Regions from separate parts of the Homo sapiens genome. Here regions 1, 2, 3, 4, 5 and 6 are each linked to region 7. The links are contacts of gene promoters, found by promoter capture Hi-C in blood cells and fetal thymus (Javierre and others, 2016). All regions are on one chromosome and are shown on one strand. The core of a region is centred on a gene start or on the middle of the fragment in contact, and the rest is flanking DNA. Distances in the headings are between cores, read along the strand shown. Region 1 overlaps LOC105374764 (a long non-coding RNA gene). Region 2 overlaps USP34 (ubiquitin specific peptidase 34). Region 3 has its middle 4.2 kb from the start of C2orf74-AS1. Region 4 holds the start of TMEM17 (transmembrane protein 17). Region 5 holds the start of SANBR (SANT and BTB domain regulator of CSR). Region 6 overlaps EHBP1 (EH domain binding protein 1). Region 7 holds the start of CCT4 (chaperonin containing TCP1 subunit 4).

Evidence for each region. Contacts are between HindIII fragments. The CHiCAGO score rates a contact against its expected background, and 5 or more counts as called.
Region 1: a fragment that was not itself captured here is called in contact with the fragment with the promoter of CCT4 in region 7 in 1 of 17 cell types (M0 macrophages); the score reaches 5.5 in M0 macrophages.
Region 2: a fragment that was not itself captured here is called in contact with the fragment with the promoter of CCT4 in region 7 in 1 of 17 cell types (total CD8 T cells); the score reaches 5.3 in total CD8 T cells.
Region 3: a contact is called between a fragment that was not itself captured here and the fragment with the promoter of CCT4 in region 7, in 2 of 17 cell types (naive CD8 T cells and naive CD4 T cells). The highest score is 6.0, in naive CD8 T cells.
Region 4: a fragment that was not itself captured here is called in contact with the fragment with the promoter of CCT4 in region 7 in 1 of 17 cell types (monocytes); the score reaches 7.6 in monocytes.
Region 5: a contact is called between the fragment with the promoter of SANBR here and the fragment with the promoter of CCT4 in region 7, in 4 of 17 cell types (naive CD4 T cells, total CD4 T cells, naive CD8 T cells and 1 more). The highest score is 7.0, in naive CD4 T cells.
Region 6: a contact is called between a fragment that was not itself captured here and the fragment with the promoter of CCT4 in region 7, in 4 of 17 cell types (monocytes, neutrophils, naive CD8 T cells and 1 more). The highest score is 6.6, in monocytes.

The regions. Positions count from the first base shown.
Region 1 is chr2:62,429,500-62,433,280 of GRCh38, reverse strand. It overlaps LOC105374764 (a long non-coding RNA gene), which reads right to left. Exons shown (of 6, transcript XR_002959390.2): 2 at 2,228-2,283. Among named protein-coding and RNA genes, the nearest start is that of TMEM17, 75 kb to the left of the region's middle. The HindIII fragment of the contact is 2,736 bases long and covers 347-3,082 here.
Region 2 is chr2:61,208,346-61,212,419 of GRCh38, reverse strand. It overlaps USP34 (ubiquitin specific peptidase 34), which reads left to right. Exons shown (of 80, transcript NM_014709.4): 69 at 491-648; 70 at 3,443-3,521. Among named protein-coding and RNA genes, the nearest start is that of C2orf74-AS1, 32 kb to the right of the region's middle. The HindIII fragment of the contact is 989 bases long and covers 1,465-2,453 here.
Region 3 is chr2:61,180,253-61,184,636 of GRCh38, reverse strand. It overlaps the pseudogene AHSA2P. Among named protein-coding and RNA genes, the nearest start is that of C2orf74-AS1, 4.2 kb to the right of the region's middle. RefSeq lists an enhancer at 3,567-4,145. The HindIII fragment of the contact is 2,881 bases long and covers 308-3,188 here.
Region 4 is chr2:62,502,567-62,506,702 of GRCh38, reverse strand. TMEM17 (transmembrane protein 17) reads left to right here and starts at 508. Exons shown (of 4, transcript NM_198276.3): 1 at 508-673; 2 at 3,909-4,012. The coding sequence starts at 574. RefSeq lists silencers at 328-597, 808-977, 1,315-1,609. The HindIII fragment of the contact is 5,299 bases long and covers 1-4,025 here.
Region 5 is chr2:61,064,406-61,068,350 of GRCh38, reverse strand. SANBR (SANT and BTB domain regulator of CSR) reads right to left here and starts at 2,480. Exons shown (of 22, transcript NM_001129993.3): 1 at 2,324-2,480. RefSeq lists silencers at 1,881-1,940, 1,951-2,300, 2,331-2,700 and enhancers at 1,590-2,089, 2,090-2,591. The HindIII fragment of the contact is 4,406 bases long and covers 1,051-3,945 here.
Region 6 is chr2:62,712,014-62,716,176 of GRCh38, reverse strand. All of the region lies in intron 2 of EHBP1 (EH domain binding protein 1), which reads right to left. Among named protein-coding and RNA genes, the nearest start is that of EHBP1, 8.4 kb to the right of the region's middle. The HindIII fragment of the contact is 9,392 bases long and covers 1-4,163 here.
Region 7 is chr2:61,886,852-61,890,960 of GRCh38, reverse strand. It overlaps CCT4 (chaperonin containing TCP1 subunit 4), which reads left to right and starts at 2,305. Exons shown (of 14, transcript NM_006430.4): 1 at 2,305-2,580. The coding sequence starts at 2,454. It also overlaps a transcript of COMMD1 not described here. RefSeq lists enhancers at 1,036-1,595, 2,535-2,614, 2,156-2,715, 2,716-3,277. The HindIII fragment of the contact is 8,675 bases long and covers 1-3,858 here.

The sequences.
Region 1 (3,781 bases), core at 465-2,964, 540 kb before region 7:
TGAGGTGCACAGCCATGCATCACCCACTCCTGGAAGGTCCCCTCAACCCAGGGCTCCCCAAGAGCAACGGGGTGGCAGGCCAGGCACTCTCTGCATGGAGCCTGGGCAGCCCCTGATTACTCACCTCTTTGGCTCAGGGCCCGAGAGCCAAGCCAGGCTTGGGGCTAGGCCTGCAAGCTAGTCATGGAGGTGGGCCTGGGCCTGGCCCTCAGGGAGCTTCCATTCCAGCCATCAGGCAAGAGAAGGAGACCAGGAGGAAGAAAAGCCTCGTGGAGAGCAGGGGCCCCATTCTGACCACAGCTCCCTTCCCTCTTCCAGCAGCAGTGGTCTGAGGTGGTACAAAGCTTCCACTGCCTCCTCCTTTTGGGCAGCTCTGAGGCCTGAGGATGTAATTAACTAATGATGCACCTGTTCTTCATTAACCAGTGAAGCAGGGATGCCCAACCACAGCTGGGATGGAACCAATACTGGGGGAATTAAAGATCAAAAAACACCAAAGGCCAAGACAAAGCTGATGGAGTGGCTTCTTCCCACTCACCCCCCACCTCCACCCCACCAGCCCTTACCAGAGACTGAAAGAGATTCCTCCTCACTTATTTCTCAGGGGATCTTGCTGAAGCAGGAAATTTCCCTGACCCCTTGTGGGTGGGAACTGGAGTGTGGGTGTTTGAACTAGCTACTTCAGTGCTAGCTGGGGCAAACCCCACTCACTGGAATCCACCACACTCAACCCCTCCAGGGATGGAGCATGCAGGTGAGCGGGTGCAGGAGCCAGAGAGAGCGCTTTTGGGTGACAGCCGGAACAAACTCTGTACTGGCCCTGCAGCAGTGTCTAGGGGGGTGCCCACAACCCCTAAAGCCCCAGAAGGAGTGTTTCAGTCAATGCTCTTTTAGCTTTGCCATCTGCAGATGGCTTAAGTGTTAACAGCTCAGTGGAGGGTCAGTGTGACAGCCCTTTGCACCCACACTCAAATTCTTATCTGAGGTCTAGGAGGAATGAGGTCACACAAACAAATTGGAGATGATAAATGCAGGGGATTTTATTGCTGATGAAAGTGGCTCTCAGTGAGAAGGGGAGCTGAGAAGGGGAGGGAGTGGGTAGGTAATCTTCCCCCGGAGTCTGGCCATCCCTGGCCAGACTCCTCTCCAAAGCTATGCCATCAAGCTGTCCCTCTGAAGTCAAGCCCCTTCTCTCCGACATTCAACCATAGTCTCTGACATCCAACTGCTTCTTCTCTTCTCTCTCTGCTAGTGGAGCCTGGGGCTTTCTTGGGCACAGGTTAGGAGTGGGGCGGGCCATGGGTGGTTTTGGAAAAGGCAACAGTCAAGCAGGAAAACAGGAATGTTCTCACTTTGGGCCATAGTTTTAGGCTTGAGGGTGAGGCCCTTGCTGGAGACCCACCCACTTCTGCCCAGAATTTCCCTTCTCCTGTCCCTATCATTGCCACCCAAACCTGGGCAAAGGTAAGGCTGAAATTCCCTTGGCATGAAAACAAGATGGACATGAAGAACTGCTAGACCAGGAGTCACTCCAGCCACCGGCCTCCCCTTTTCTGAGCACTTCCTTCCTGGTGCTTCCTCATCACTCAGCTTTCCTCGGAGTGCACCCTCAAGTCTACGGAACCTGCTTCCAGAAACCTACTGGCATTAGTCATTTGCACCTTTGTGTGATTTCAGTCCTTATGTCATCTCTCCCACCATAATCCCTGGTCCTCTGAGTGGAACATCAAGGTCTTGTAGCCACTTTTCCTGGGTTGAAGAACTCCAGGCATGGCAAAGCCCTGGAAGAGATATGGGGTGGAGGAGGGATGCAGAGGAATTCTGGGTCCTGAAATTAGACCATTTAAGTGAATCTTGCCATCTCAGGCCCCGCCACTCCGAAAGTGTTGGCACTTCTCAGAGTTATGTCCTTGGCCAAGGTCCCTCCACACTTCTCTCGGGTCCTCTCTGCAGCACACAGGACTTCCACCACCACCCATTCCCGATGCCCTCAAATCCTTACCTCTACCCGGTGTCTCTGAGTGCCCTGCCTTGGGATCAGGCTGGCTACTGAATGCTCAGTTTCTACCTGAACATGTGGTGTCCCCTTCCCCAGATGCCATCTGATCCTTCTTCCATAGCTTCATCAGTGGTACCATTCTACTTGGGTGACACCTGCCACATAAGCCCCTCTCCTCTCCATCCATCATTCCACTTCCTTGGTTAGAGCCCTAGAACCCTCACTTACCTATGAGAACAGTCTATGTTTATTGTGAGTTTGAGGAGTCCTTGTAGGTGGTTTTTCTGCATGGAAAAGATTAAAGATAACTTTGGTTTTTAAAAAAAAATATATAAGTTTTTGGCATGATCAATTTAAAAAATCTTCCTTTAGCTTTTTTTCCAACAGTAATAATTTACTATAAAGAATTAACTAGGCATACATTTGTTGACTGTATCACCAATAATTATAATTATACTTTACTGGGCAACATTTTCAGTAAGTAGAGCTTTTAAAGTTCTAAGGATTGAGCACTTTCAGGTGTCATTTCTCTGTCTCTCTCTCTCCCTCGATATATATATATATATATATTTTTACCATCTTAACCATTTTTAAGTGGCACATTGTTCAGTGACATTAAGTATATTCATGTTGTTCTACCACTGCTAACATCCATCCACAGAATTCTTTTCATCTGCAAAACTGAAACTCGGTACACGTTAAACACTAACTCCCCATTCTCCTTCCCCTGCCCCAGCCCCTGGCACCACCATCCTGCTTCTGTCTTTATGAATTTGACTAATCTAACCTTACATAGGTAAAATCATATTGTATTTGTTATTTCATGACTGGCTTATTTCACTTAGCAGAGTGTCCTGCAGGTTCATCCATGTTGAAGCATGTGACAGAATTTTCTTCCTTTTTAAGGATGCATAATATTCCACTGTATGGCTATACCACATTTTGTTTATCCATTCATCTGTAAAAAACCTTCCTTTAGATTTTAAGTTCTTTGAAAGATTTTCCCCCCATTTATAACTGTAGCAAATTATAGCAAACATCTTTAGAATGTTGTTGGTTAATATTTGGTCCTATTTATAAGCTTATGTATATACATTCAAACATTTTAAACTACTTTTATAAATTTAATATATGCAATTTCTTTTTAAATACCTCAATTATCTGACTTAAACAAAATCTTAATAACTTTTTGAAAATCTAAATATAATAAACTGATAAATATAGCAATACTTAAATTATTCTAAGTCTTCCAACATAGAAATTTATTAAACTTTCAACTTAAAATCACAAGTCTAACTTCTTCAGTTACACTTTTAAATTCAAATTATAGGCCTGGCACAGTGGCTCACGCCTGTAATCCCAGCACTTTGGGAGGCCGAGGTAGGCAGATCATTTGAGTCCCAGAATTTGAAACCAGCCTGGGCAACATGGAGAAACCCCATTTCTACAAAAAACACAAAAAGATTAACCAGGTGTAGTGATGCATGCCTGTACCTACCCAGGAGGCTGAGGTAGGAGAATTGTTTGAACCTGGGGGGCTGCACTCCAGCCTGAGTGGCAGAGCAAGACCCTATTTCCAAAAAAAAAAAAAAATTCAAATTATAAGCCTCAGCTGTTCCTCTCATAGACCAAATTCTCTTAAACATCATAAGTACTTAAAATGCCAACTATGTGTAGAGTATTCCTAAAACAAAAGAATTAATACTGGCCAGGCGCGGTGGCTCACACCTGTAATCTCAGCACTTTGGGAGGCCAAAGTGGGCAGATCACGAAGTCAGGAGT
Region 2 (4,074 bases), core at 710-3,209, 680 kb after region 7:
TGATTTCTCATTAATTAAAGAAAAAGTGGATAGGAGATGGTGTGGCATGCCTCTGGGTTTACATTTGAAGTTACAAAAGTAGTGCTTTAAGCAGTAATAAGACTAAAAATGAATTGTATTCACTTACAGTTTTTACTCTTTCTAAACTTGTATTTTAAGATTTGTTGAGTTCTTTTAGTGTTTATTATTATTGTTATTATTTGTATTTTAGTAGAGACAGAGTTTCATCATGTTGCCCTGGCTGGTCTCGAACTCCTGAGTTCAGGCAATCTGCCCGCCTCTGCCTCCCAAAGTGCTAGGCATCAGCCACTGCGCCCAGCCAAAATTTTTTAAATAGAATTTGTTACTGATTTTATAACTTTCTGAATGGAAGTATAATCTAGCTTATTTGTATAATTTTAAGAGTTGATTAATGAACGTAGAAATGAGAAACTGACCTTCTAAAATGCTATAGGGTTAAAAGATCATATGGCTTATTTGGCTTTTTTAGGCAGTAGAAGAACTGTTTAACCTGATGCAGCTGTTTATAGCTCAGAGGCCAGATATGAGAGAAGAAGAATTAGAAGATATTAAACAGTTCAAGAAAACAACCATAAGTTGTTACTTACGTTGCTTAGATGGCCGCTCCTGCTGGACTACTTTAATAAGGTAAAAAGATGTTTTTAGTTTTGTCTTGTTTATTTCCAGTGAGATGAGGACCATCCTTTTGATGTTTAAAGATAAATCATTTACATTGGGGAAGCATTTGTGCATGTAGCCACTTTGGAACATTTTGAAGGTTCATGAACTACTTTTAAACAGTTTTTGGTCTGGCTTTGGTTTGTATTTGTGTATGTTTTATCATTTTAGGGTTGAAGGGAACCTTTATGTATAGCCTTCTACCCAAAGCTTGAATAGTCTTGTTTATGGCAATTTATCCTAACTCAGGCTTGATAGTTCAGTTCTAGAGGCCTCCAGGAAGTTTTCTGCACCTTTGGATGAGTCTGTTAATATTTTGCATTCTGTTTAGCCCAAATATATCTATCTGGCTTTCTGATCTATATGACTTGGCCAAAATTATAAAACATAGTCTTTATAATTAATTTTCAGAGCTACAGAAGTTATTGAATGGTTACAGGAACTACTACAAATTACCCTTAATTCCCCTTAACCTAGAGAAATAAAGTTCAGGCTAATTTCTTAAATTCTTCTATGTATTACATCTAAGACTTGGAAGTGTTGTTTTTTATTAGGCACATTTTTTTTAATGGTACTTTACTGAAGACTTCACTGTAATATCTTAAGCTACTCAATCTAAGATGAGGTTATTTCAGATTGTCTTCTTTGGAAAGCTTTCAAATGTGAGTCTTCATTAGTAAACAGGGAAATTAACTACGCCTTTGCCGGATTTCTTAAAGGGATTGTTTTTAAATTTTGGATTAATTTTGAATACAATTGTTTTCCCAAAGTTTACTACTTAAAGCTTTATTTCAAAAAAGATTTAGAGCAGCCTGGGCAACATAGTAAAACCCCATCTCTATATAAATAAATAAGTTAGCAAATAAATTAGGGTGTGACGGCATGCACCTGTAGTCCCAGCTCCTCGGGGGGCTGAGGTGGGAAGATCCTTGAGCCCAAAAGGTGGAAGCTGCAGTGAGCCATGATTGTGCCATTGTACTCCAGCCTGGGTGACAGAGCGAGTCTCAAAAAAAGAAAAAAAAGATTTGGAGCTTTCTTAACTCTTCTTGAAAAAGGAAAGGAATAAAGTAGAAGGATTTCCAGTTGTAGTCTATAACAACATTTTTCTGGTATCTAATGAAAGAAGACCTGTTAACAGTAATATAGCTGTGTGAGTAATTATAGTCATGTGTTGCATAACAACAGGGTTACATTCTGAGAAATAAATTTTTAGCCTATTTCATCATTGTGCAAACATCAGAGTGACTACTCACACACAACTAGATAGTAGCGCCTGCTACACCCCTAGGATATATGGTATAGCCAACTGTTCCTAGGCTCTAAATCTGTATAGCATGTTACTACACTGAATACTGTAGGCAATTATAACAGAAAGGTAAGTATTTGTGTATCTAAACGTATTTAAACATAGAAAAGGTACAGTAAAAATATGGAATAAAAGACAGAAAATGGTACACTTGTGTAGGGCACTTACCATGAATGGTGCTTGCAAGACTGGAAATTGCCCTAGGTAAGCCAGTGAATGAGTGGTGAGGGAATGTGAAGGCCTGGGACATTATTGTACCCTACTATAGACTTTATAAACACTGTACACTTAAGCTACACTAAATTTATTTTAAAATACTTTTTCTTCATTATTAATGTACTGAACTTTTTTTACTTTATAAGTTTTTTTAACTTCTTGATTCTTCTATCGTAGCACTTAAAACACACTATCATAACACTTAAAACACACATTTTATAGCTGAACAAAAGTATTTATATCTTTATAAGCTTTTCATATTTAAATTTTTTTTCTTTTTAAATGTTTTCGTTAAAAACTAAGACATAAACACACACAATTAGGCTAGGCCTAGCAGGGTTGGGATCATCAGTATCTCTGTCTCCCACCTCCACATCTTGTCCCACTTGGGAGGTCTTCAGAGGCAGTAACTAGCTTAGAGCTGTCATCTCCTCTGACAATGATGCCTTCTTCTGGAATCCCTCCTGTAGGGCCTGTCTAAGGCTGTTTTACATTTAACTTTTTTTGAAATAAGTAGTAAAATAATGATAATATAGTAAATACATAAACCAGTAACATAGTCATTTATTAACATTATCAAGTATTAGGTACTGTACATAATTGTGGTATACTTACAAGACTGGCAGTACAACAAGTTTGTTTATACCAGCGTCATCAGAGACATGTGGGTAATGCATTGTGAATGTTACCATGGCTATGAAGTCACTAGGCTAATAGGAATTTATCAGCTCCATTATAATCTTATGGGACCACCATTGTGTTTGTGATCCATCATTTACCACAATTTCATTTTGTGGCACATGACTGTATTTTATAAACTATTTTCAAGGCTGACACGTTTTTAGTATTTTTTTCCTTCATGTTACTCTTTTTTAATTACCAGCTGATGAGTGTTTAGATAATATGGTGAATTTTATGATTATCCAGAATTTAACAATCAGAAGATGAGCCTATTATAAAAATCAACATTGTTTATGTGGAAACTTTAAAAATATTCCCATATCTTCTGCCATTGTAGATAATTAGCAGTTGATTAGATATTAATAGACTTTTTTTTAGTTAGAGTTTATTTAATATTATTTCCTTATGCTGCATTTCCAGGAAACAGATGAAGCAGTCTCTTTTCTGTAGGTAGGAAAGCAGAGAGCTTAAATGATGATTTTATTTCTTTTTATTTTTTCATCACCTAAGTGTTGTGTTCTTATTCAGACTTCTCAAACTGAACTTTATGTTTTCTTCTAGTGCCTTCAGAATACTATTAGAATCTGATGAAGACAGACTTCTTGTTGTATTTAATCGAGGATTGATTCTAATGACAGAGGTAAATATTCTATTGCATTTTACTGTGGATATTATCTCATTTTAATGTTCTCACCAAGACTTACTTTATAGACATTTAGAGTTTATGGTAAACTGTTTTACAGGTGGCAAGGTTTTAATTATATAGATCAGTAAACCTGAATTTATATCCCAAGAATAATTAGGTCATAATTTTTAGGGTGCTGTTCCTTTTTCCATAGTAATTCCATACTTTTCCCATTATTTTGTATTTAGAACAGCCATTTGAAATAGACTAGTTTTATTCATTTGTAGGGACAAAAATGAAATACATGTGATTTCATTAAGGGCACACATAATTTCCCAAAAGCCTACTTATTTGACAGTATAGAAACTGAGGTTACCATTGTGAACCCGGAAAATCTGAGACAGGTCTCAGTTAATTTAGAAAGTTTATTTTGCCAAGGTTGAGGACGCGCCCGTGACACAGCCTCAGGAAGTCCTGATGGCACGTGCCCAAGGTGGTTGGGACACAGCTTGATTTTATACATTTTAGGGAGACATGAGACATCAATCTGTATGTAGGAAGTACATTA
Region 3 (4,384 bases), core at 499-2,998, 710 kb after region 7:
AAAACAGCATGTAAGAAAATAAAACATTTATAAAAATAATTCCTATAACATTTTGAGAATTTCAAGACCATTCCAAGTTTTTACATATAAAACTACTGATGATTAACAATGTGAGTTCCACAGCAACAAATGCCTTTTTTTCAAATGCCTCACTTTTATCAAGTTTTTGCTAAAGCAGCAAAATTTTCCAAAGTTCTTTTCCAAACAGCTAAGTTTTATATGATTAACTACTAATAGCTTTGTGGCTCTAACCTACTGTCAAAACAGACAATTTCTCACGTGAGGGTGACCACTGCCTCACAAAGCTTGTCTTCACAGTATTCAAAAGCCTGTGAGCCAGCTATATGTGCGCTCTCACGGGAAAAGTGACAACCCCAAACCCATCTATGCCAACACCTAGATACTCAGGTGGTAGGGTCCAAGAACGAGGTACAGAGATAAGGCACTGCTGGCCATCTTGCCTGCCTCACTTCTCTAATTTAGGGAAGACAACAATAACCTCACTTCCATGCAATGCGGATATTATCTAGGTATTTCTCAATTACACCTGTAATACCTGCAGTCACTTTCATCCATTCATTCATTCATCCAACAAAGATTTATTAAGCACCTACTATGTGCCAGGCATTGTGCTAGATGCTGGAGATACAGCAGTGAACAAGACAGACACCTTCCATGCCCTCATGGAGCTTATAGTCTAGCAAGGAAGTCAGACATTAAACAAGTAATTACACGAACAACTGATTTTCATTCCAGAAAACTACAATTAACAGTTCTGTAGGCAAAATGGTTCATGCTGTGTACAATACTAATTATCACTAATTATGGTCTTAACGATGACTAGCTCTCAACTTCCAGACTACAATTTATTCTGAAGTATAAACTTGCTTCTGGAGCCTCTGACCACAGTGTAGAGTATAACTTGGGTAAATAGAAAAGGGACCCCTCTGATTCACAAGGGATGCCTTCTTTACCCGTCTTAAGTGCCTTCAGGTAATCTCCAAGGGCCTCCCTGACCTTGGCAGTGCCTGCAGTTTTCATAAGATCCTTCAGTATAACCCCATCTCCTTTCTTTTTACTCAACGTTGACCTACAAATCAGAAAAATAGAAACCAAAGAAAGATCTGGTTTGATGTATTCTTACAACATTGGGCTGTATGGATGAGAGAACTATGGCAGTGGAGGAAGGAAAGAAGTAGATGTAAGAGATGTGATAGGGCAGGATTTTAAGGGTTTTTAATCCAGGGTCCATGACAGGGTTGGGGGCCAAATCTTGCATGGACTTCATAGAATGTAAACCCTTTAATTTGCATACAAAGTTGTGCATGTGTATGTATATAAATCCTATTGCTGATGTGGTCCATGGCTTTCATGGGGTCTAGAAATGCACTGTCCAGTATGGTAGCCACTAGTCACATGTGGCTACTGAGAACCTGAAATATGGCTGGCCTGAATCAAGATGTGCTGTGTGAAATAATACGTGCCAGACTCCAAAGACTTACTACCAAAAATGAATGTAAAATACCTCATAATTTTTATATTAATTACATGCTAAAATCTTTTTTATATATACTGGGTTAAATAAAATATATTATTAAAATTAATTTCACCTGTTTATCTTTTTTTTTTTTTTTTTTTAAGAGCTTGCATCTCGTTATGTTGCGGAGGCTAGACCCAAACTCCTGGGCTCAAACAATCCTTCCCCTCAACCTCCCAAGCAGCTGGGATTATAGGCATATGCCACTACACCTGGCTTTAATTTTTTTTTAAGGGTCTCCCTGTTGCCTAGACTGGAGTTCAGTAGCATGACCATGGCTCACTGCAGCCTCGAACTCCTGGGCTCAAGTGAGCCTCGTACCTTGGCCTCCCAAAGTGCTGGAATCACAAGTGTGAGCCACCATGCCCAGCCACAGCTTTAACTTTTTAAGTACGGCTACTAGTAAAACTTACACTGCACATGTGGCTTGCATTATATTTACATGGAACAGTGCTGGTATAGAACCCAAAAGCCACCGTAATTAGGGAAATCAAGTTCCCATACAACCCAGCCTTGGATTATATACTTTTTTGGCAGAGAGGAAAATTGGGAAAGGGAGAAGAGTAGAAGACAGGCAGAGGGAAGGAAGAAGAGAGGGAAGAAGGGGGAGGCCAAGGGAGAAGGAAGCAACAGAGGGCTGTGGGGATGTCTCTAGTATTCCCAGAAGAAAAAGGGGTCGATTTGAAAAAATTTAGTGTCCCGATGCTTCAGTTGAGGGGGGCCTGATCTCGGGCCCCAGTTTGAATCTAAAGAGTTTGTTCCGTAATGCTACTGAGAGATTAAATCTTAAAAACCAGTTAAACATTCTGTTGAAAAATTTCTCAGCTGATGGATCTGAATATAACAAAGTGGAATCTCAGGCCCTGAGCAGAGGAACCACATAACTGAAGACAGAGGTCTGGGACAGCCCCCGGCCTGTGGCACTGCATAACCTTCGTGCCATAAGACATACTGCTGGGCAGGAGTCAGCCTATCTTGAAAAGCCTTCATGTTAAATACGTTCACAAATCAAAAAAAATCCTTTGTCAGACTATCCTCGTTTGAAAAATATAGCGGCTGTACAAATGGTCTCACCCCCAAAACCCAGCTTTCAGCCAAAAGAGGGCACTAACTTGAAGCCAAGCATGGGAGTTACACAAGGCTCTGTCTCCCAAGAGAACCAAGAGAGCCACAAAAGCAACACGTACTAACTGGGTAGTTTACAAAAAACCGTGAGGCATAACCAAGGGAGAGATAGCAGCTAAAGGCTGAGACTTTTCACCATTAAAGGGAAACGGCAAAGGTGCAGGAGAAGAGGGAGAGTCACATTCATCAAGCCATGCAAGCTGCCTGAGCAGTTTACAGTGCACACACTGTCACATCTAACGTGACAACACCCCTGGAAGAGAAATTAACCCCTTTTCACAGATGAGGAGGCTAAGGAGGGTGCAGCCAGCTGCCCAGGCCCCTTGCCTGGTCCTCGGGGGAGCTCAGGGCTTCCTGGGGCTTACTCTCTTTCCTGTACCACTCCAGCTCCACACAACACGCTGCCCCCACAGTACGGCAATCCTTCTCGGCAAACAGGCCCTCCACAAGGCACCCGAACTACCACACAGGAACCACACAGTCTGATCAACACTATTTGAAATGCCCAATGTCTGTAGCAGAAGCTTGACTGAAAAAAGAACAAAAGAAATAGAAACTTGATCACATACCTCAGTGTCATCTACTTCATTTTCCTCAGAAAGATTGGGTATTTCAATCAATCCCTTGTGCTTCACTCCAGATTCTTTAACGATGCCTAAAATGAGCAAAATGGGTTCTTCAATTATAATACAAAGTAACAACTGGGCCAGGCACTGTGGCACATGCCTATAATCTCAGCACTTTGAAAGGCTGTGGTGAGGATGGATTGAGCCCAGGAGTTTAAAGACCATCCTGGGCAACAGGGAGACACTGTCTCTACAAAATAAAATTATCTGGGCATGGTGGCGCACACCTGTGGTCCCAGTTACTTGGAAGGCTGAGGTGGGAGGATTGCTGGGAGGTCAAGGCTGCAGTGAGCCTTGTCTCAAAAAAGAAAAAAAAATTGATTTTATGAAAAACTGCCCTACCTCACTGAATAGCTCAGCTGCCCTCACAGGGTTCCACCACTCCAGGGCCCCCTGAGCAGCCACGGAAGAAAGGTCAGGCAGGCCATGGCCAAGGAGAGGGCATGAGGAGTCAGCAGTCCGCCGTCCTGAGAGGAGTGTGGGGCAAGTGCACCCATATTCCTCTTCTTGTCCCAGGGTACTCTTTGCCTGGGCAAAGCAGGACAAAGGAGTACCCTGAAGGGGAGAAGCAGTCACAAAAGCGATGGAAGGACAGAAAGGGACAGTACGTTCTGACCACGGAGGGGAGGGAGGCTCTGGCTTGAGGGCATTGTGTGGGGGATACCAGGCAGGTAGACTTCTCTCAGGACTAGAGTGTTGCCTCCTCCCCAGTGGGTCCCAGTTGCCACCCTAGAGACTCGCTGCTGGAGGAGAGCAGCTGGGAGGTGTTAGGACAAGCCCTAACAACCCGTCCTCTGGCTGCTGCCTGGCAGTGGCTGGGTCTTATCCTTGCAAAGGAGCCAAGAGAGATGGAAAAGACACAAGGCCCACAAGGTTCCTCAGGCCTTAGGGCTCGGTGCTGGGGTAGTGGGCAGGGAGCCAGACTGCTATGATCCAGACAGCAGCAGACACAGGGGGCTGCAAGAGAGGCAAACTCCCAGCCAGAGGAGTTCTGAGCCTGTTCTGAGGCGAAGGGGGAAGGGCTGAACACCCTCGTCTGTGAGAAAGGCAGCCAGCAGGGCAGAGGCTCGAGGCCAACTCACTGGACTGCTCTGGG
Region 4 (4,136 bases), core at 127-2,626, 620 kb before region 7:
CTATACCATTCAATATCCTTTGCAAGCATTTTATAAGCAGCTGAAACATACTCCATTGAATGTATGTGCTCCAGTACATTTAATCAGTTGCCCATTGCTGTTTTCTTATTAAAAAATAATCAGTCACATGATGTCTCTCTCTCTCACACACACCCCTACACCTCTAGACATTCTTTAAGCTCTGCATTCGTTCTCTATTTCTCTCCAGAAAGGTTGTACCGATTTACAGTTCCACTGGCAAATGTGAGGGCTCCTTGTATCGCAGTCCAACCCCAGCTCATTTCTTAGTATAGGTTTGTTTTTAGGATGGTCGAGCTCAAAGCAGAACTAAGGGATCTGCCGTTTTGTACACGGCCGAGGCGCGCGGCTCCCTGGGCCTGGAACGCGCTCTGAGCGCGCCGGTCCCTTCCAGGTTGCGCGGGCTCCGGACGAGACCCAGCCCAGCCGGGCAGCCCCGCGCGCTCCCGGGTCCCGCCGGCCTCGCGCCGCCCGGTTGCCGTGGGAACCACGGAGCCTCGGAGCGCCCGCAGACTAGCCCGTGTCTGAGGGGGTGAGGGATACTGAGGCCCAGGCATGGAGCTGCCGGATCCGGTGCGCCAGCGGCTGGGAAACTTCAGCCGGGCCGTGTTCAGTGATTCCAATCGGACCGGTCCAGAGTCCAATGAGGGTCCGGGTGAGTGACCGAGGCCCGGTGCAGGGGGTGTGGCCTGCCGAGGGCTTGGCGTGGATTTTGGAGCGTCCAGAATTTGCCCGTACCTAAAATGGCGATGTCGCCTTCAGCCAGTTCTCCGCAGTGCGGGAGAGCGCCTTGGAGGAGGGGCCGGGCCGGACAGGGAGCTGAGGCGCTGGCGGCCTCCCGCCCCCGGCCGGGCCTGGTCTCCGCGTGGTGCTCCCTGGCCAGCTTGTTGCAAGCGCGGCAGCTGACGTGGGGCCGATCTCTGTGCCGCGCAAGGCCCATCATTGTCCCGGAGAAACCCCAAAAATAAAAAGATAAAAGCCGCCCTTGCTGCACAGGCTGGTCCCCCGCGCGCCGCGAGAGCGAAGGCCCAAGTTGTTTTGCCTCTGCGGCGCCCGCCCCGGCTTTTCTGTCCAGGATGACGAGGAATAGCCCAAGCAATCCCACCTCCCCCGTCCCCACCCCCACCCCAGGGAACAAATTTGCCTTTTCCCTTTTCCTAGCAGAACAAGTATGTTCCTAAGCAAGGCCATTTTCTCGTAGAAGACATTAAAAAAAAAAGTTAATGAGTCCTTTCAAACCACCATCCACTCCCACTGGCATGTGCCATACTAGCCGGGCGTTCAACAAAACTCACCCCTTCCCTGCCTTCTCCTCCTCCCCTATATGTAACTCTTATCATAAGGTAACAAAATACCATGATGCTTCTGCGTCCTTTAACTTGATGTCAAGTGATAACACAGTTTCCTCCAGAACAGTTTCCTCCTCCTACATCATGATGGTAGACAACACACTGTCAACCAAACCCATGTGGTTTTCATCATTCAACTCTGCTGGGAAATATCAATCTTTTCCTCTGCTTGGTTTTAGAGAATTTTTAAAAGGGACAGAGAAAAGTAAAGGCAGTTCCCAAAGCTGCATTTTGTCACCTTGATCACTTGCCTATTTCCCAAATGTAGGCCTTTATGATTTAGGATGTACAGAGAAAAATGTGAAAAAAATAGGTTTTCACGTTTCTGGTTCCAAGGATGAGGCTTAATGAGCACTAACGTCTGATAATACAAGGTAAAAAGACGTTTTCTGAAAAGGACCAGATAGTAAATATTTTAGACTTTGTAGGCCATATGGTCTCCACGGCAGCCATTGACAATAGTTATTGAATAGGCAGGGCTGTGTTCCAATAAAACTTTATGGACACTGAAATTTGTATTTCATATGGATTTCACGTGTGGAAAAAATATTACTTTTTTAACCATTTAAACGTGAAAAAACATTTTTAGCTCATTGACTGTACAAAAACAGGCAGCTGGCCAGTTGTTTACCTATCCCTGATTTATATTGTATGTTTTAATTTAAATTCCATTTACAGAACTCAACTTGAACTTTTGCAAAATTTAGTAAGTTTATGTCTTACGCTTTTAAGGTTCATTTACATATTAATTTGATTTTCATTTCCATGATTATAAGTTTGATCTGCTGAAATATGGACATAGCATAACCTTTAAGATGTTAACACACAATACTTCTAACATGAAAACCATTCTTTGCAAAATTTGACTACAGTTTCTTCTCAAAGGTACTGAAATGTTCAGCTTGCCCAATTTATTATTCTTTCCCAAATTTTCTTCTTTGTGGATTGGAAGTAGGTTTGATTATTTGTACTGTAATAACAAGTTTATGTCATTACCATGTCCGCAGCTTTGTACTGTTGCTATCGAAAAGATCCTAGGCTGGTGAGTTGTCTTCAGATTTAACAGATTTTAAGAATTCATTCCTTTATCAGTGGTAATTTAATAAACAGTTGCAAGCAAAAGTAGATCATAATAATCAGGCATATTCTTGGAGCTAAAAGAAACTATTTTGCTGTGAGAGACCATGACTATTTCTTATATTTTAAAATAATTAAGTGACAGATAAAAACACTCAGCTATGGAGAAAAGGAGAAAATAATGTTTTTAAGACATTTATTTTAGAGCCTTTAAAATCTTACGTGTACAGCAACTGATTTCAATATATGTGTCTGCTCTTAAGAATTTAGTCAAATTTAGGATGTATTTTGTAGGGCTCAATTTTAAAAATCAAATTCTTAATCTAGGACCCTGCTCTCTTACATAAAAGCAGAAAGTGTTATGGAATCAACCTTAGGTAAATGGAACTCATGTATCACAAATGGCTATGCTAGTAATGTCCTTATGACAGTATACTTTCATTAATTCATTCTTATGTGTATTTGATATTCACTGCGTGGAAAGCAAGATGCTAGATTCTATGAGGGTCTCAAATTAGGGTAGGACATGGTGTGTGCTTGCAATGAGCCTGTAGATAAGTAGAAGAGAAGAAGGAAAGAGGACTAATATTTGTTGAGTGCCTACTAAGTGTGCCAGGCACAGTGCTAGGATGAAATAATTTATATTGGCTCTAATTCTCACAAACAGCCTGTGAGGAAGTTTTAATTTCACTATTTTACAGATGAAGAAATAGAAGCTCAAAGAGTTTAAATAATTCATGTCAAGTCTGACATCCAGGGTCACAGAGGTTTGGGGAGCTCGGATTTGCTTGAACTCTGAAGCCCATGATCTGTTCAGTACACCAGACTGTTTTTTGGGGAGGGGAGTGTGGTTCTTTGCTAGCACTTCTTATTGACAGTTTAGAGTGGTAAGTACCTAAAGGGGAAAGGTATTTCTGCTGAGGTGGGGGAACTGATGAAGGAAGTATTGATGGAAAAGATGACACTGAATTGGACTTTAAAGAATGGCTAAGATTAGGGTATGCTGAAAAGAGAGATGTGTCTAATTATAACCTTGGTAATCCGTTTTTGTATAAGATTAGTTTATCTGTGGGAGATTCATTTTTATTTATTTTATGCATTAATTTTATATGCTATTTACATAGAATTCTACAAAAGAGGCAATGATAATTATCTGTTGAATAGGATTTATGTTGATATTCTACATTAAATCTATACCAGTAGTATATGCCAAAAAGTCAGAAGACTGTAATGGCAAAATGGTAAAATAATTGAAAAATATGAAACGTACCCCCAAATAGCCAATATTTGACCTAACTGGTATTAGGATGAATATTCCTTTTACTGTCAATGATTATAAATAGGCATAAAATTTGGTGTTTTACTGAGCCAATATTATAGTTATTAATTCTAGGGAATAGGATATATATATATAGGGCATAAACCCAAGATTCATCATTTGTTCCTTTTCTGTTCCTTCTGTAGAAAATGAAATGGTCTCCAGTTTGGCACTGCAGATGTCACTTTATTTTAATACCTACTATTTCCCACTGTGGTGGGTGAGCAGCATTATGATGCTTCACATGAAGGTAAATCTAAGCTTTAATACTTTTGCTGCCCTGACGTTGTTAGAGTGTCAATAAAATTCAAGTTCTTAATAATTTTTTCTATCTTAAATCAATGTTACTATACATGAGATTTTACAAACATGTT
Region 5 (3,945 bases), core at 1,231-3,730, 820 kb after region 7:
GCCCAGTTGGAAACATATTTTACAGAACTTCATTGTTTTTTAAAGAGTTGGTCATCTCAAAGTAAGATGAAAAAAGTGAGTGAATCTGAAAAGTAATGCCCTTTTGCATGTCCCAGGCTGAGTTTGATGAAAACATGGGGAAAGAAGACTTGAAAAAAGTCTTGGAAGAACCTTGGAAGGGCCCTGAGAAATTTCTGTTTATTTCTCTCTTTAACTCGCTGGATTATGATTTCTTTGATGGGCTGGGCCTTCTATCTTTGATTCCCCAAAAGTGTGACCAGCAAGGCAGATACTGCCAAAATGTTTACTGAATTAACGAGAAGGTCACAAAACCTTAAGAGACATTTAATGTATCCTTTGGAATTCACTCCAAACTGCAGGTCCACAACTCATTTAAACATTTAAGTATAGATGGGGATGTGCAAAGATGGATGGGGATCATGTCCTGCTGGATTAATCAATTTAGTTTTGAATCCTTGAAAGACTTGCTTTCTCTCTAGAGAACAAAGCACTGATCTCTACTTGTTTGCCTAGTACTTGCATCACTTTTCATACCACACAATTTGGGAAGCATGTTAGAGCACATAGTGCGTTGTTGTTGTTGTTGTTGTTAAGACGGAGTGGCGCTCCCTCTCTCATCAGGCCAGAGTGCAGTGGCGCGATCTCGGCTCACTGCAACCTCCGCCTCCCGGGTTCAAGCGATTCTCCTGCCTCAGCCTCCCGAGTAGCTGGGACTACAGGCACGCACCACCACGCCCAGCTAATTTTTGTATTTTTAGTAGAGACAGGGTTTCACCATGTTGGCCAGGATAGTCTCGATCTCCTGACCTCGTGATCCGCCCGTCTCGGCCTCCCAAAGTGCTGGGATTACAGGCGTGAGCCACTGCACCCGGCCAGGGCGTTTTATTATAATTTGTTTGGGCCTTGGTAGAAAGCAATCTAAAATGGAATTCAGGGCAAGGATCTTCCCTGAGAGCTCATTTCTCTTCACTTCCAAAAAGATTCATTTAAAAGTTCAAAAATATTACCCACGTCAAACACTTAAAAGCTTACATTTCAAATGTGATACTAATTTATGCTATACATGTTTAAGAGTACTTTAAATCATCCAAATGAGAAAAAAGTTTTTCTGTTGACTTTCTCTTTATACAACTGTACTAGGCAAGGGAAGACCCCCCAGCATTAATTCTAGTTAAATGAATGTCCAAGAAATCAGAGTCTGAATTTAAGTATAAAAGGCATAGCATTGATGGATAATCCTTAATAAAACATAAATTATCTCGAAATAGCTGTTATAGTGCACCTCATTCAGGAAAGTATAAATTTATCAAAAACGGTGACAAGAAAAAGCTCAAAGTTCAAATTACTATGAAATCCACTCCCATTCATAAAATATCAAAATCTTGACAATATTTAAGGTAAAATACGTTATTTACCAAAAATAAAAATCCAATATGTTTAACAGACTTCATTTTTTAAGAACATACTTCCCCTCCCCTCCCCGACCCCCTTCTCTTGGTTTATGTATTTAATATACATGTATTAATTAAGAAGACTAGTCTAAGTCACTTCCACACCAGATAGAGGTCTACAACAGGAATCTGATATATTTTTTTCTTATTTCAAATAGAAAAAAAAGCTCTTGGAGACAGAGACGTTTTCCCTTAGCCAGTGGAAAGATGGGAAGAGAGGGGGCCCCGTGGGGCAGGCAGGCAGGCAGGTCAAAGGCCTCTGGCCTAACAGAGGGCGGCGGTAACACCGAGTCATCCCGGACCGGGAAGAAGCCTTGTACCCAGGCTTCCTGACTTCTGCACACACAGGAGATCGGAGTCAGCTGGAGGAGAAAGTAAAATCACATCCCAGAACCGGCATGAGGTCAAAGCCAGTCAAACCTTGGGCCCGGAGGCTCACTACGCGGCGCGTCCTCGGGGCACCCCCAGACCTTCGCGCCCCGCTCCCGCCCGTGGAGGCACAGAAACTCCAGGGGCGCAGAGCGGACAAAGGCGCCGGGCAGCGGGAGCGAGGCGGGGCAGAGGCCCGGGGCGCGGCCGGGCGCGCAGAAGCTGGGGTTCCCGCCGCTGTGCGCGGGCGGGACGGTCTGCAGGGACATGGACCGGGCGGGTGACGGGACGCGGGCCAGCTGGCTGCTCGAGGCGCGGCCGGCTGAGGCTGTGCACGGGGGCGTTCGGGGGCGTTTGGGCAAGTGGGACCCCGCCCGGGGTGGGAAGCCGCGGCGGGAGCCGGCTGGCTGTGAGCGGTACCGCCCCATGCCGCACTTCCCGCCCCGCGGTGGGCACCCGAGCCCCCTCGGCGTCTCGCTCACCTCCACAGGGCCGCGGCTGCCCTCGCAGCGCCTCTGTTACCTGCAGTGGTCGGCACCGCCCGCGCTCGCGCCCTGAAGCTGCCGCTACCGAGCCCGCAACCCCGTCCGCAGCGCCTCACACCCCGCCCCCGCCCGCTTGCAGGCGGCTGCGGAGACTAGCGCCGAGGGGTGGGGGAGCCGCCGAGCCGACGCCGCCCGGCCAATCGCGGGCCAGCGCCGCAGCGGCGGAGCCAATGAGCGCCGAGCCCCTGCCGGGCGGGAGGGCACCGGAGGGGCGGCGGCGGCTGACTGTCGCCTTGCCTTGCCTGCTGCTTCTCCTTCCTCCTCTGGCATACACTCCCAGGCTTGTCGCAGTGCAGCGTCCCCACCCTCCCAGCGTCTTGTCTCTTAGCAACCAGATCCTAGGAGCCTGATCTTAGGTGACCAACCCTGAGTCCAGAAGAAAGGGGGATATACAGGAGATAAAAGATTAAAGAATGGATGAAATTGTTCTTGGTGCAGATCATTTGGTACACCGCTTAGGTAGAGCGGAAAGATCGCATGATGAGGGACACCGAAAGTATCTTTTAGACCAAGGTCTTTGGGTAAGGACCTGAAGTGTCTTTACCAGGAGGTAGCTCTTTAAAAATGTAAATAGCTCTGGATTACAAATTCGGTTTTCATACATTAATAGGGTGTGTGTGTGTGTGTGTGTGTGTGTGTGTGTGTGTTATTGTGAGGAACACTACTATTGGGCATCTAGTAAAATGCAAACGGCTCAATATTGTAGGGTAACTGCTACATGTCAACATTTCTATCTAATTTCCACTTGGTCTATTCTGAGAACCAAAATTAAATGTTAGGATTAGAAAGAACAGAAAAAGTAAAGCCTTAACCAAATGAATAATTACTACGAGATCTGATGATTAAGTAGAGATTAAGTGGTTCACTGTACAGAATGTCAGGAGTTTTTACCAATTGTATCATCCTGTGACTTTCTGCAGATCTTTTACGATTTTTGTTCCACAAAGACATTAAAGTGGCTGGGTGCGGTGGCTCACACCTGTAATCCCATAATCCCAGCATTTAGGGAGACCAAGACGAGAGGATTGCTTGAGCACAGCCTGAACAACAAAGTGAAACCCTGTCTCTACCAAAAAAAAAAAAAAGTTGTTTTTTTTTTAAGTTAGCTGGGCGTGGTGGCCCCAATGAGCTATGTTTGCACCACTGCACTCCAAGCTGGGCAACAGAGTGAGACCCTGTCAAAAATAAAAATAAAAATAAAGTTAGGCAAGTGTCGTATCATAAGATGTTAGGTTAAGTCAGGTAAATTCTTTTTTTATTTTTTTGAGATGGAGTCTTGCTCTGTTGCCCAGGCTGGAGTGCAGTGGCACCGTCTGGGCTCACTGCAACCTCCACCTCCCTTCAAGCGATTCTCCTACCACAGCCTCCTGAGTAACTGGGATTTACAGGCGCATGCCACCATGTCCAGCTAATTTTTTGTATTTTTAGTAGAGATGGGGTTTCACCATGTTGGTCTTGAACTCCTGACCTCAGGTGATCTGCCCGCCTCGGCCTCCCAAAGTGCTGGGATTACAGGCGTGAGCCACCATGCCCAGCCAGGTAAATTATTATTATTTTTT
Region 6 (4,163 bases), core at 922-3,421, 830 kb before region 7:
GGGGCAGAAAATTCTGGAAGTAGAGGAGATAGGAATGGGTGGGGCAAGAAATGGGTGGGACATTGAAAGGTCAAGATCTGAAAGAAACCATGCATTTATGATGAATTCAGGGTAATTCAGAATGAAAGAGTAGGAGTAAGAGAATGAGGAGAAGCTAGAGTGATAAAATAGGGTGTAGAGCAAGATGTTCTCTTACTCCAAGATGTGAAATTTTGACGTTATCTTAGCGATAATAGGGTTAATTAAGCATAACATGTATTAGCTAGGGTAAAGATTAGTTTGTTGTAGCAAAGACATCCAAAGATACAGTAGCTGAATAAGATAGAAAACGTTTCTCTCAAAAAAAGTCTAAGTAGGCAGCTCAGAAGTAGTATGGCTGGAAGCAACCTGATGATATTGGGACCCTGACTTTCTTCAGTCTTGTTACCCATCATCCCCCAGTTGTTGATCTCATTCACATAGTTGAAAATCGTCATTCCTTCTGGGTCCATACCTCAGTTATCAAGAATGGGTCAAGATAAGAGGAAGTCAGGTCCATTCCTTTCAAAGACTCTAATTGGAAGTTGTACACATCAATTCCCCTCATATTACATTGACTAGAATTTAATCACATGGCCACACCAAGTGCAAGGAAATCTGGAAAATATAATCTTTATTCTGGGTAGCCATATGACTCTTTAAAATTCAGAAATAATATATTTTTAAAATACCAAAAAAAAAAAAGAAAAGAAATACATCATAAAATGGCTTGGCACGGTGACTCGGCTGGGCACGGTGGCTCACATCTGTAATCCCAGCACTTTGGGAGGCCGAAGCAGGCGGATCACGAGGTCAGGAGATCGAGACCATCCTGGCTAACACGGTGAAACCCCATCCCTGTTAAAAATACAAAAAATTAGCTGGGCATGGTGGCATGCACCTATAGTCCCAGCTACTCGGGAGGCCGAGGCAGAAGAATTGCTTGAACCCGGGAGGTGGAGGCTGCAGTGAGCCAAGATTGTGCCACTGCACTCCAGCCTGGGTGACAGAGCAAGACTCTGTCTCAAAAGAAAAAAAGAAAAGAAATACATCATAAATATCATAAAACATCGCTACAGGACACATACGAACACACAGACATGCATACACAAATGCTGGCAAATTAATTCTACTTTGGAGAAATTAAGTTAGTTTTCTTAGCCCAACATTTGCTTGAAATTATTATAAAAAGGAAATAAAGTTATAAAACCATAGGAATTGATTTTGCTTCAGAAGCAAAAATATGTAGTTCCTCTCCCCAAAAGTCAAAGTATTGTCAAAACTTAGCTCATTTCAGCACTGTACTTCTGCAGGCACATTCCCTGGTTACTCCTACCTCCCTGGTCACTCCAACCTATGCTAGTTCATCTTTCTCTAACACTCTTAAAAGTTCAGGTTATATTTACAGTCTTCTTCCCACCTACTCTAACCTTTCTCTCTAGATAGTTCTCTTCATCACTCATTGCTTATTTATCAGATAAAAAATAATAACAACAATGGGTAAAATTTTCTGGGTGCTTACTCTGTCAGACACTGTTCTAACCCCTTTATTACAGGTATTATCTTACTTAATCTTCAAAACAACTCTATGCTGGAAGTAGTGTTATTATCATCTCCACTACTGAAGAAGTACCAAGAGATAATTCATCCAAGGTCACACAGCCAGAAAATATGTATTTTACACAGACACAGACCTCAATGTTTTCAGAAGCTGTTCTAAAGTTTCTTTCTATAAGGCTGGAAAACTGGCACAATGGTCTCTTCTCTGTTACTTATGTAGTTTGAGTGGAATAAGACTAAACTAATAGTTTAGAGCCTGAGCACAGAGAACACAGAAAGGTGCTAGACTCTGTATTCCCTAAACACTAGCTGCAAGTAACTCCCACGACTTAAAGCAGAAGTCAGCAAACTTTTTCTTTCTTTCTTTTTTTCTTTTTAAGAGATAGGGTCTCACCATGTTACCCAGGCTGGTCTTGAACTACTGAACTCCTGAGTTCATGGGATCCTGCCACCTCAGCCCCTCCCAAAGTGTGAATATTTACAGAAAAAAATTTGTTCTCTATTTTTTTAGAGAACAAAAGAGCCAGTTTGGATCAGGCCAGAGTTTGCCTGCCAACTCTTGATCTAGAGGCATATTTTGAGTCATGTGTAGACATAATCATGATGTAAGCACATCAATATCCAATTATGGCATTAAGTGGCTCCACTATATTCCTTAAAGAACCCACCACAATTGAATTTTGTAAAACTGTTCTTCACATAGAATAAAGACTTAAAATCTGGAAAAAACACAATATGTAACAATTACAATTTAAAAAAAATCAGTTTATAAGATACTATCATGAAATTACAAACAAGTAACATCAATTTAGCATTTGCTAAAATCATATGCCTTTGACAACTTACAATATAGAAAAGACTGCGCTATTTTGTTTCAAGGAATAAGATGTTCAAGATTCACATAACTTGCAACATAGAAAGTACTGCAAACTAACCTCTCTAGAAGCAAGCCTAGAAACTAGGGAACAATACCTTTCTTACCTTGCCTCTTCCTTTTGCAGTCATCTAACCTTCTGCCCCATCTCTCCCCTCATACATTAAAGATTTTAGCACCAGGCCAGGTGCCGTGGCTCAGACCTGTAATCCCAGTACTTTGGGAGGCTGAGGTGGGCAGATCATTTGAGGACAGGAGTTCGAGACCAGCCTGGCCAACATAGCAAAACCCTGTCTCTACTAAAAATACAAAAAAACTAGCCAGACATGGTGGTACATGCCGGTAATCCCAGCTACTTAGGAGGCTGAGGCATGAGAATCACTTGAACCCAGGAGGCAGAGGTTGCAATGAGCCACTGCACTCCACCCTGGGCAACAGAGTGTGACTCTGTCTCAAAAAAAAAAAAAAAAAGAGTTTAGCACCTGACTCCCTGTCTTAAATGTTTCTCCTCCCATTATTCTTGGCAACTTCAAGAGCCACACAAATAATCTGTCCACACATTGGCCTCTAAATTCCTTGACCACCCTCTTCATACCCAAAAAATCTTTTACTCCATTTCACCTCAGCCACCAACTCTCATGGTTATATACTAATAGCTATAGTCTCTAACAAGGAATAGGAATACCTGGAAGGTGCAAAAGATTATCTACTCAAACACAGCAAGAAATTCTACTTAAATTTATTTATTTTAAAGGTATTTATTTTATTAAAGGAAATTAAAGTATACTCATATTTCATGTATGCAGTATATTAAAAATATATTGGGATATGTGCTCATTTTTGTAAACAGATATGCACATGTGATCCAAGGACACCACCAGTATCTTGTCATTAACATTAACCACATCCTCAAAATCAAGCATCTCACACTCTTCCACCTCCCATCTTTCCAGCTCCCAACCCCAACAATTCTTCAACCTCTTTAAAATCTTTCAATCATTATCCTTTTCATGCTTTCACTGACTATCCCATCTTTCACGTACTTACCTTCTCCTTTTCCAGCTTATATTCCATGGTTCATCACTAAAACCACTCCTGCACATTTGCTCTCAATTTCCCTGTCTCTCTTCCCCTCAGTTATACATTCCTGACAAAATCCAATCCTGGTCAAATCCAACTCTATCTATTCCATGCCTGCACCAAAGCACTGAACACAGTTGGATTAAAATATGCAAACTTGCTGGTTGCATTCACTTAAAATTTATAATCACAAAGTTAAGAAGGTCATCACTACTACCCAGCAATCCCCCTACATTTCCCTAGTCAATTCATTCTCACTTTGACAACTTCATACCTCATCTCCTCAGTTCTTCAACAACTGTCACCTCCCTCCCAGCAGATGATTTCTTATATCATTTCCCTGAGAAAACAGAATGTCCACATCCTTCCCAACCAAATCTACCAACCTATCTGCTTCTCTACCCATGTACCCTGCTTCTCCCCTTGTAACAATGAATGGTCCCTGCTTCTACCTAAGTTCAACGTTTCCACTTGTGTTCTGGATCCTTTTCTCTTTCTCTCACTCAAAGACTTTTCTGTCCTAAGGTTACCTCCTCTCCCACCACATCATCCATTTTTCCTTCTCTACCAATCATTTCCACCAGCATTTACACATGTTGCAATATCTGCCAAGCAAAAAATGTACCTTGAA
Region 7 (4,109 bases), core at 1,056-3,555:
TCTAAACAAATAACCATAGAATTTATGTGCTACTTGGGAGTATTCTGGTCCTCTGAAGAGAAGTCGGCCTCAGAGGTTTATGGATCTTCATTTCCTAGTGCTAATATCCTTCTTTTTTTTTTTTTTTTTTTTTTGAGACAAAGTCTTGCTCTATCACCCAGGCTGGAGTGCAGTGGCGCAATCTCGGCTCACTGCAACCTCCACTTCCTGGCTTCAAGGGATTCTCCTGCCTCAGCCTCCCGAGTAGCTGGGATTACACCCCCGGTTAATGTTTTGATTTTTAGTAGAGACGGGGTTTCGCCACGTTGGCTAGGCTGGTCTTAAACTCCTGACCTAAAGCGATCCACCCACCTCGGCCTCCCAAAGTGCTGGGATTACAGGCGTGAGCTACTGAGCCAGGCCCCTAGTGCTAATATGCTAAATGTGTGTTAAAGAACAACTTGGCGAGGTGGCTCTCGCCAAGCCTGCAATCCTAGCACTTTGGGAAGCCGAGGCGGGCCTATCACCTGAGCTCGGGAGTTCGAAACCACCCTGTCCAACATGGAGAAACCCCGTCTCTACTAAAAATACAAAATTAGCCGGGCATGGTGGTGCATGCCCGTAATCCCAGCTACTGGGGAGGCTGAGGCAGGAGAATCGCTTGAACCCGGGAGGCGGAGGTTGCGGTGAGCCGAGATGGTGCCACTGCTCCAGCCTGGGCAACAAGAGTGAAACTCCGTCTCAAAAACAAACAAAAACAAACAAACAAACAACACCACCACCACCTCATAATTACAAGATTAAGTACCTTTGAACATTTGTTTCTGAACCTACCACACGCAACTGTCACTTTGCAGGTGCTTAATAATTGTGAGCGAACATTCAACAAACCTCATTTCATAAACTTCCCTACTGAAATATAGTGGTCATAGGAGACCAGCAGTTTAGCTCATGGCTTCTGGTCCTTGCTTTGTATTGGAATACTGCTTCTATCTACTGACTCGTTTACCCTGGGCTTCAGTTCCTTCTTTGGGCTCCAGTTCTCTCACCTTTTAAGTAAAGGATTATTGTGAGGACTAAACGAGATATAAAACGTGTAAAGGTTTAGCACTGTGCTTAGCAGATAACGGAAATAAATGATCTTTATTATAATGTTTACGTTCCCTAAGAGTCAGTGGCTACGTCATGCAGGAGACACTAGTGTAGAACAAGCGGGCGGTGGTAACTAGACAGACCTGATTTGGCAGTCTGTCAAACCTCCACCACCCAGTATCAACCAATACGAGATAACTAACCTCGCCTCATTCCAAATCTCCCTTTTCTGACTCCCTTTCAAAATGAACAAAACTGCATAAAATGCAGGTCTATGTGGCCGGGCAAAAACAGACTCAGTCATATCCCTTAGAGAGTTATTCCGGCGCCCACCCCACCTCGCGGATAGATCCAGCCGGAGTTAAAGGAGGGCACCTCCGGGTGGGCGCGGTGGCTCACGCCTGTAATCCCAGTACTTTGAAACGCTGAGGAGGGTGGACCGCTTTGAGCCGGGGAGGTCAGACCAGCCTGGGCAACACAGCGAAACCCAGTCTCGCTATGTTTCGAATACAAAAATTCGCTAGGCATGGTGGCGGGCACCTGTCGTCCTGGCTAGTTGGGAGGCTGTGGCGGGAGGATCGCTTGGGCCCCGGAGGTCGAGGCTGCAGTGAGCCAAGATCGCCCCACTGCACTCCCGCCTGGACGACAGAGCGAGACTCTGTCAAAAAAAAAAAAAAAAAAAAAAAAGGCCGGGCTTCGTGGCTGACGCCTGTAATCCCAACACTTTGGGAGCCCGAGGCGGGTGGATCACCTGAGGTCGGGAGTTCGAGACCGGCCTGGCCAACATGGTGAAACCCTGTCTCTACTAAAAATACAAAAATTAGCTGGGCATGGTGGCGGACGCCTGTAATCCCAGCTACTCGGGAGGCTGAGGAGGATCGCTTGAACCTGGGAGGCGGAGGCTGCAGTGAGCCGAGATTTTGCGCCACTGCACTCCAGCCTGGGCAACAGAGTGAGACTGTATCCAAAAAAAGAAAAAAAAAAAAAAAAAAAGGAGGGGACCTCATAGCCGTGCAAGGTGGAGTGAGGAAATGCGGATGTCCTCACCACTCGCCTTTAAAATCGCGCGTTGTCATTGCTGCCTCGCGTAAAGGTTCCCCCGGCGCTCTTCACCCACAGCGCCCCGGGCGTACAATCTCGCCAGCCCGGAGCCCACCGCACGCATCCTCCTCGCCCGGCGCGCAGCGGACAGCCTCCTACGTCACGCCAGCGCCGCGCGGCAAGGAAGGCCCCCTTCTCCGCCTCCGCCTCCTCCCGACGCCGGCGCCGCTTTCTGGAAGGTTCGTGAAGGCAGTGAGGGCTTACCGTTATTACACTGCGGCCGGCCAGAATCCGGGTCCATCCGTCCTTCCCGAGCCAACCCAGACACAGCGGAGTTTGCCATGCCCGAGAATGTGGCACCCCGGAGCGGGGCGACTGCCGGGGCTGCCGGCGGCCGCGGGAAAGGCGCCTATCAGGACCGCGACAAGCCAGCCCAGATCCGCTTCAGCAACATTTCCGCCGCCAAAGGTATCACTCTCATGGCCTGACCCGCGGCGCCGCGGGGTTGTGCTCTGCGCTCTCATCGTGGGCTTGAGCGGGTTTGGCTCATTTCCCATTTCTTCGGGTGATCCTCTCTTGTCCTCCCTATAGAAGCAGCCCAGTGGAGGGATCCTTATTTCTGTTTTTCTGCCGATGATCGCCAACCCGGAGTATGGAGGCCTTTGGACTTGCCCCATTTTGCATCTTAATCTCCCTTAGTTTTTCATCCTGCACTGTGCATCATTCATATTGGAGCCGAAAGCAGTTCAAAATGCCGAGGATTGCATGCAGTCTTCACTAGGGATCTGACGCTTGAGGGCTGTCGCTTATTGCTTATTGGAACTGGTAGAATGCACAGTATCTTTCAGCTTTGTTATTCTTATTTAAAGAACTATTAAATAAACTTCACTTGGCACAACTGTTGAGACGAATTGGGTGAACTCTCCGAGTCTAAATTGGGGCGGGGCCCATTGTACTGGGATGGATGTGGGAACCGACTTACGTGTCGTGTTTGAAATAGTTGCGGAAAAGTTACGTTGATGTCGTCTCCGCATGTGCAGTGAAACATAGGCAAATCAAGAAACAATTATTTGTTTTTTTTGTGGAAGTGTGTGGCACACGTTGGAAATCAGGAAGACCAGAGTTTCATTCTCTGCTTCCGTTACTTCATGTCTTAGTGACCTGTAACCTCTGTGCCAAAGATTCACTTATAAAATTGGAGGAAAATGTTTGCTTTTTAGAGTTAAGATTAAGAGAAATCGAGTTGAAATAGAAAAATCTGGAAGGAAAAGTCAGGACAGAGGTTTAGAGATCTTGCCCGAGTGTATATTGAGTATAGTAGTTCTTTTGGGTTGGAGAATAGTAGTATGTTTACAGAAGAGGTGAGATTAGAAAGCTAGGTTGGGGCAGATGTTAAAGGCCTGGTGTCCTGGAAAGTATTTGGCTTAATCTCCCCCAGCTATGGGATCATTTCTTTTTAGCCATCGTGTAGGCTTGCTGTGAGGATTCAGTGAGAAAGCATATAAAGACCCACGTATATAAAGTACACCTTACATGTGTTTGCAGTCATCAGCCCAAGTAACTGGGAATGTGATGGCGCTAAGATAGGTAACGCTGGATGTAAGAAAAAGTAATAGTTTCTAACTTGTCCTAATGAGTTGGAAAGGTCAGAATGGCCAGATTTAGGAGTCATTTGTAAGTTTAGGAGATAATACACCTGGAAACGAAGGTTTGTAGGATAATTGTCTAGGGACCATAGTTGAAGCTTACATTTATTAGATTAGGAACAGAATGTTGAAAGATAAATTTTGGGTCGGGCAGGGTGGCTCACGTCTGTAATCCCAGCAATTTGGGAGGCTGAGGCTGGCGGATCACATGAGGTCAGGAGTTCAAGACCAGCCTGACCAACATGGAGAAACCCCGTCTCTACTAAAAATACAAAATTAGGTGGGTGTGTTGGCGTAGGCCTGTAGTCCCAGCTACTCGGGAGGCTGAGGCAGGGGAATAGCTTGAACCTG